Linked DNA regions of Homo sapiens: region 2 is linked to region 1. Evidence: promoter capture Hi-C in human tissues and cell types (Jung and others, 2019). All regions are on one chromosome and are shown on one strand. Each heading gives the region's core, a stretch centred on a gene start or on the middle of the fragment in contact. The rest is flanking DNA. Distances are from core to core; before and after follow the strand shown. Region 1 holds the start of SPANXN1 (SPANX family member N1). Region 2 has its middle 240 kb from the start of SPANXN2.

Evidence for each region. The method cuts DNA at HindIII sites, captures the fragments that hold promoters and counts their contacts. A contact is called where the count stands out against the background at its distance.
Region 2: a contact is called between a fragment that was not itself captured here and the fragment with the promoter of SPANXN1 in region 1, in 1 of the 25 tissues and cell types used here (IMR-90 fibroblasts).

What each region holds. Positions count from the first base shown.
Region 1 is chrX:145,245,820-145,249,139 of GRCh38, reverse strand. It overlaps SPANXN1 (SPANX family member N1), which reads right to left and starts at 1,637. Exons shown (of 2, transcript NM_001009614.3): 1 at 1,479-1,637. The coding sequence starts at 1,553. The HindIII fragment of the contact is 8,684 bases long and covers 1-3,320 here.
Region 2 is chrX:143,954,608-143,957,866 of GRCh38, reverse strand. No RefSeq gene overlaps it. Among named protein-coding and RNA genes, the nearest start is that of SPANXN2, 240 kb to the right of the region's middle. The HindIII fragment of the contact is 5,954 bases long and covers 1-3,259 here.

The DNA.
Region 1 (3,320 bases), core at 388-2,887:
TAAACCTGCATCTCACCTACTTAACCAATTCATTCCCAAATCCTGTTTATAATCTTGCTCGGCTAATCACCTTTCCCCCCAATCCATTAAATCCACCCACACCATCACACACAGGGCTGTCACCCTCCTTCACCTCATAGCCTCTTAACTAAACATGTTACAACTCTGATTCCATAAAATACCTCTTACCAACGCCTCCCCTCTTGGCTAGAGCCACTCTTCATGTATCCAACTCAAGGGCGCTCCCTGGAAAACATGCACAAACAATTCCCTCAACTGCAACCTGTATCCTTCTGCCCTGTAAGGACCACAGTGGCTATTAGTTACAAAAACCCATTTCCCCCTCTCTCTCCAAAACCAAGCAGCCTTCACCTCCTCCACCACCAACATTTCCTATCAGGCCTTCAGTGGGGCTACCCTTGCTGGCAGCTATTGAACTTGGAGGAATATAAAAGTTAAAACAAAGTGTTTGTGGAGAATTCAACCCCCACCTTCTCATGGCTTGCCACCATAACCTACAACTTTCGTTAACCGCCATAATCTACAACTTTTTTGTTAATCTAAACATTAACATTTTGCCTAACAAGCAGACCATCCAGGTTCCTTTAGTAGCTTCTGTCTCATCTTCCTCCACACACACTAAGCAGGCTGTACATCTCATTCTAGTGTTAGCAGAACTAAGCATCTCTGATGCACTCAGCACTGGGATAGCAGGTGGTCCCTTTCTTAGGGCCGTTAATCTTCCTCCTCCTGATAGTACATTTGGCCGATGTATACTCACCTTCATATCCTGCTTTATCTCCCGAAGGCTAAACTCCCCTGTCCAGGCAGCCACCCAGCAACACATTGATACCATCCTTCTCCTCTGCCAAGTCCGGTACCAGTGCCTCCAGGAAAACAACTCTGAAGTCCAACACCCACTGCTTCAAAACCCAAACCCTGATTACAGCTCCCCTATTCGGCAGGAAGCAGCCAGATAATCAACAATGCCCCTCTTCCTTTTATACTAAAGTAGAAGGCAAGAATGTGAGTCCAAACCACCATTTAGTAAGCACCCTGCTATTTTTCAGACCTTGATCAAAGTGAAACATTCCACGGGGGTTCAGGCTGAGAAAAATCTTGCCTAATCATCGTAACACAAGACGGACAAAGGTCCAACTAAAGAAACTTTCCTATGGTATCTTGCTGGGCAAAGTTCCAAGAAACACCACAATGACATCCCACTGGAAAAAGGACCAAACAGCCTGATCATAAAAACATCTTATCAATATCCTGCCGGGCAGCAAGCCATACTGCCCAGGCCCCTCCCACCCCTACCTACAAGCACCCCAGGCTGTAAGCGGCGGTGGGCTCTGGCATTAAGCGGGTCTCCCACTTCCACAGGTGTCTGCAATATTCCTGTGTTGCTGTTTGAGCCGTCCCTTCTCTGTGTGTCTTTCTTTCACCCTCACCTTCCCTTCAAAACCTAACAATCTTACCTCATCATTTTCATTGTTGGATTCACAGGGGCTCTTCCTCTTCTCCCCATTGATGCTTGAAGTGGGCTGTTCCATGATTCTGGTTGGTTGTAGAATGTCTATAGTAGGCTCTTGTAGACTCCAGACTTGCACAGCTGTATTGAAGCTTCCCAGGAGGATGTCCCAGAGCTCTTGCCCTCCCTATATATACCCTCCTGGTGACAAGGCAAAGCCACACCCTTGAGCTTTGTTTGATCATACAGGCAGTGTCCCAGCCAATGGCAGTCCTAGGGTGGCTTTGACATCACGAAGCACCACTGCTGACCAATCCCTGGGCTTGTGGGGGAGGGGTGACAGGGATGTAGAGGAAACCAAATGCTGTTGTTGTTTCAGCATCCCCTGAAGATGCATCCCAAACCGATCTGCCGCCGCTCCTCATTTCTCCATGTTTAATGTTCATGGTTCACATGGAAGTCAGAGGATGATTCCTTCAAGCCCTTCCCCACAGCCATTCCTATGAAGTGATTCATTCTTTTGTCTTCCAGCCCTCACCATGACTTAGTATTTTAGATGTCTCACCTCAAATCCCCCAAGCTAGTGTGGCTACATGTAATTATTGGTGGAGATGTGAATTATCCCATTTCCCTCCTACAGTTCCTTCACATGCACCTCGAAGACCATTTACTTTTGGGCTACTGCCAGGCAAATTTCAACCCATGTTCTTTTACCCAATGTCCATGTAGTTCTTTTAAGTTTCCTATCTCCAATCTGAAATAATGGCCTTCAGTCTGTCAAAACTTTAGTGAATAAACATTCTTTACCATGTATCCTAGTCTTGTTTCAAATCAGGGGTGTGTGTTCATAGTAAATGTAGTCTCCCAACATGAATTCTGCCAGTATGTGGGTGGGGGAAGGAGTGGATATTCAAGTGCTGGAAGTTGTTCTGAGTATTTACCTGCAGGATACTATAATCTAAGACTAACATGAGGGTACAAGCTTCAAGCCTTGGTGGCTTCAAGCTTCGGTGGCTTCCACATGGTGTTAAGCCTGGAGATGCACTGAGGGTAAGAGTTGAGGCTTGGGCTTGGGAGGCTCTGCCTAGATTTCAGAAGATGTATGGAAATGCCTGGATGTTCAGGCAGAAGTATGCTGCAGGGTTGGATCCCTCATGAAGAACCTCTACTAGGGCAATGTGAAGGGGAAATCTGGGGTTGGAGCCCTGACACAGAATCTCCACTGGTCACTGGAGCTGGAGAGAGATGCTCACAGAATGGGGAGAGACGAAGGTTGCTTAGAATTTCAAGAAAAATAAACAATTGAGGATGTATACAATAACACTGTTTGGCCCTGATTCCTGACAAGGTGTTTGGTAGCAGGAGAAGTCAGAGATCACTCCAGGTTTTAGGACCAGGTCACTTATTGATGATGAGAATATTTTTTAAAATACAGAATCTAGACAACAATTTGGAAGGAAAGGTGAAGGGTGTCATTTTGGCATCTCAGGGTTGAGCTGAAGCTGGGCTGTGCAAATGTAAATGCTGTAGGCAAGAACTGCCACTCAGCTGGAGTTTCATACCGCGGGGGTCCTGGGAGGGATGATATTTTATGTAATGGCATTTTTAAAATTTTTCAAAAGTAGTAAAAGGAGAATATCACTGGGCCAGGAACTGAACTTTGCACAGTGCTTAGCATGAGTAGTGGGAGAGAAAATGATGCTCAGGAGAGGCGATGGAGAACCAGGAACATGAAGTGTCAGGGCAAAGGTCAGAGCAGGAAGGAGTCCTGCGAGCATACCATCCTCTCTTACTCACCCACCCCTGACATTACACAAGTTATCTCCTCTGCCTGGGATACCCTTCTCCC
Region 2 (3,259 bases), core at 651-3,150, 1.3 Mb after region 1:
AAAATAATGCAGGGACAGAAAACCAAATACCCCATGCTCTCACTTATAAGTGGGAGCTAAATGATGAGAGCACATGGACATATAGAAGGGAACAACACACAGTAGGGCCAATTTGAGGGTAGAGGTTGGGAGGAGGAAACAGATCAAGAAAAATAACTAATGGGTACTAGGCTTAATAACTGGGTGATGAAATGGTCTATACAACAAACCCCCACGACACAAGTTTACCTATATAACAAACCTGCACATGTACCCTTGAATTTAAATAAAAGTTAAAGAAAAATTAACTATAAAAATTAAAAAAAAATGGTGAAGGTGACAGCAGTAGGTTAGAGTGAACATCTCCAAAGTTTTGCATCATGATCAAATGCTTTCGTTGTATGTTGCTCTTTTTATTGAAGAGCCATTCCAAATATTGTGAGATGCATTGCTGCAAGAAGCTGTTTAACTTCTCTCAATAGCATTTCAAACATAGTTAGTTTTAACTTACTAACTTGTTTTGAATTGATACTAATTACTTAATAGAATATTCATGATGAGGCATAGTTACAAATGTGTTCACCACAACATCATTCTTAAAAATTAAAAACAAAATCCTCTAAAACTCTGAATATGGGCTGAAGTTTTTCCTTGATGTATATATGAGTATATATGGAATACATTTACATAGAATGTGTGTGTTAAATATTGGGATGTTTATGCACTAGTATTATTATTATTATGTTGGAGATGGAGTTTCGCTCTTGTTGCCCAGGCTGGAGTGCAATGGTGCGATCTCAGTTCACTGCAACTTCCACCTCCTGGGTTCAAGTGATTCTCCTGCCTCAGCCTCCAAGTAGCTGGGATTAGAGGCATGTGCCATCACGCCCAGCTAATTTTGTATTTTTATTAGAGACAAGGTAGCACCATGTTGGTCAGGCTGGTCTTGAACACCAGACCTCAGGTGATCTGCCCGCCTCAGCCTTCCAAAGTGCTGGGATTACAGGCATGAGCCATCGCACCTGGCTGAATTATTATTTTAATAAATGGTTATCTTTGGTACTGAGATTTACTAAAATTTATGTTTCAGTTTTCTGTCTTCTTATCTTTTTTTTAATTTTTATTTTTTACATGGGCACATACTAATAAAAGTGGGAAAATTTTCAGGTTAGGGAAATGTAGTCTACTAGACCTTAAACTAGTCTCCAGGGTGTGACCAATACAAGCCCCAGATGTATAAACTGAAAAAAGACTTTAGGGAAATGGTAAGCAAGTTACTTTGCTAATCTGAAAAATATAGGGTTAGGATCCAGACAGATCCAGACCCTGATACTCGATTTCTTTATATAAGGCTTACACTTTGTTTAGCATAACTCAAATTGTAACGCCCGGTACTGAACTACTAGACTCATAATAATTTTAAGGCAATTATATATTTCATATTTTTTAAAATCAATCTCAATGAATCTATCTACCTATCTATATATCTGTAAGGTAAAACACAGCATAGTATTGGGCATATTATTATGTATGTATGCATATGTATATAGAAATATATATTTAAATTTCTTTCTAGAAACAGTTCAATAAATGGAAGGCTTTTAAATGCATGAGTTTCTAGCAAAATTATGTAAACTTATAAGTTGTTGCATCTTTTAATCACAGAAGAATTTGATTCCTTAAGTACAACTCAAGAATATATGACTTTGGTGAATTAAAATGGAAAAACTACTCGGGTAAATCATTCCCGTCGTAAGTCTAAGAAATACTTTCATAAATCAATCCAAAGCTTCAGATCATGCAGAAAGGTACTTGTCTATTATTTTCATTATTCCGGAATCTGACACAGCCAGGCCCCAGGCCCCTCCCAAATCTCATGTTCCTTACACATTTCAAAACCAATTATGCCATCTCAACAGTCCCTCAAAGTCTTAATTAATTCCAGCATTAACCCAAAAGTATAAATCCAAAGTCTCATCTGGGATAAGGAAAGTCCCTTCCACCTATGAGCCTGTAAAATCAAAAGCAAGTTAGTTATTTTCTGGATACGATGGGGGTAGAGGCATTGGGTAGATACACCCACTCCAAATGGAAGAAATTGGTCCAAAAAATGGACACCAAGCAAGTCCAAAATCCAGTGGGGCAGTCAAACCTTAAAGCTTCAAAGTGATCTTTTTTGACTCCATGTCCCACATCAAGGTTCTGCGGATGCAAAAGGTGGGCTCCCATGCCCTTGGGAAGCTCCAACCCTGTGGCTTTGCAGGGTACAGCCCCCCTCCCAGCTGCTTTCATAGGCTGGCATTGAGTGTCTTCAGCTTTTCCAGGTGCATGGTAAAAGCTGTCGGTGGATCTACTGATACCATTCTGGGGTCTGGAGAATGGTGGCCCTCTTCTCACAGCTCCACTAGGCAGTGCCCCAGTGGGGACTCTGTGTGGGGGCTCCAACCCAACATTTCTCTTCTGCATTGCCCTAGCAGAGGTTCTCCATGAGGGCTTCACCCCTGCAGCAAACTTCTGCCTAGATATTCTGGCATTTCCATACATCCCCTGAAATCTAGGCAGAAGTTACAAAACCTCAGTTCTTGACTGCTGTGTACTCACAGGCCCAACACCACATGTAAGCCACCAAGGCTTGGGGCTTGCACCCACTGAAGCAATAGCCTGTGCTGTACGTTGGTCCCTTTTAGCCATGGCTGGGATGCAGGGCACCAAATCTCTAAATTGCACAAAGCAGAAAGGCCCTAGGCCCAGCCCAGGAAACAATTTATTCCTCCTAGGCCTCTGGGCCTGTTATGGAAGGGGCTGCCGTGAAGACCTCTGACATGCCCTGGAGACATTTTCTCCATTGTCTTGGCGATTAACATTTGGCTAGTTACTTACGCAAATTTCTGCAGCTGGTTTGAATTTCTCCTCAGAAAATGGGTTTTTCTTTTATATCACATCATCAGACTGCAAGTTTTCTAAACTTTTATGCCCTGCTTCCCTTTTAAACATAAGTTCCCATTCCAAGTCATCTCTTTGTGAATATATAAAACTGAATGCTTTTAAGAGCACCCAAGTCACATCTTGAATGCTTTCCTGCTTAGAAATTTATTCTGCCATATACCCTAAATCATCTCTCTCAAGTTCAAAGTTCCACAGTTCTCTAGGGTGGGGACAAAAAGCTTCCAGTCTCTTTACTAAAGGATAGCAAGAGTCACCTTTATTCCAGTTCCCAACAAGTTCTTCATCTCTAACTAAACCAACCTTAGCCTGGACTTCATTGTCCATATAAATATCA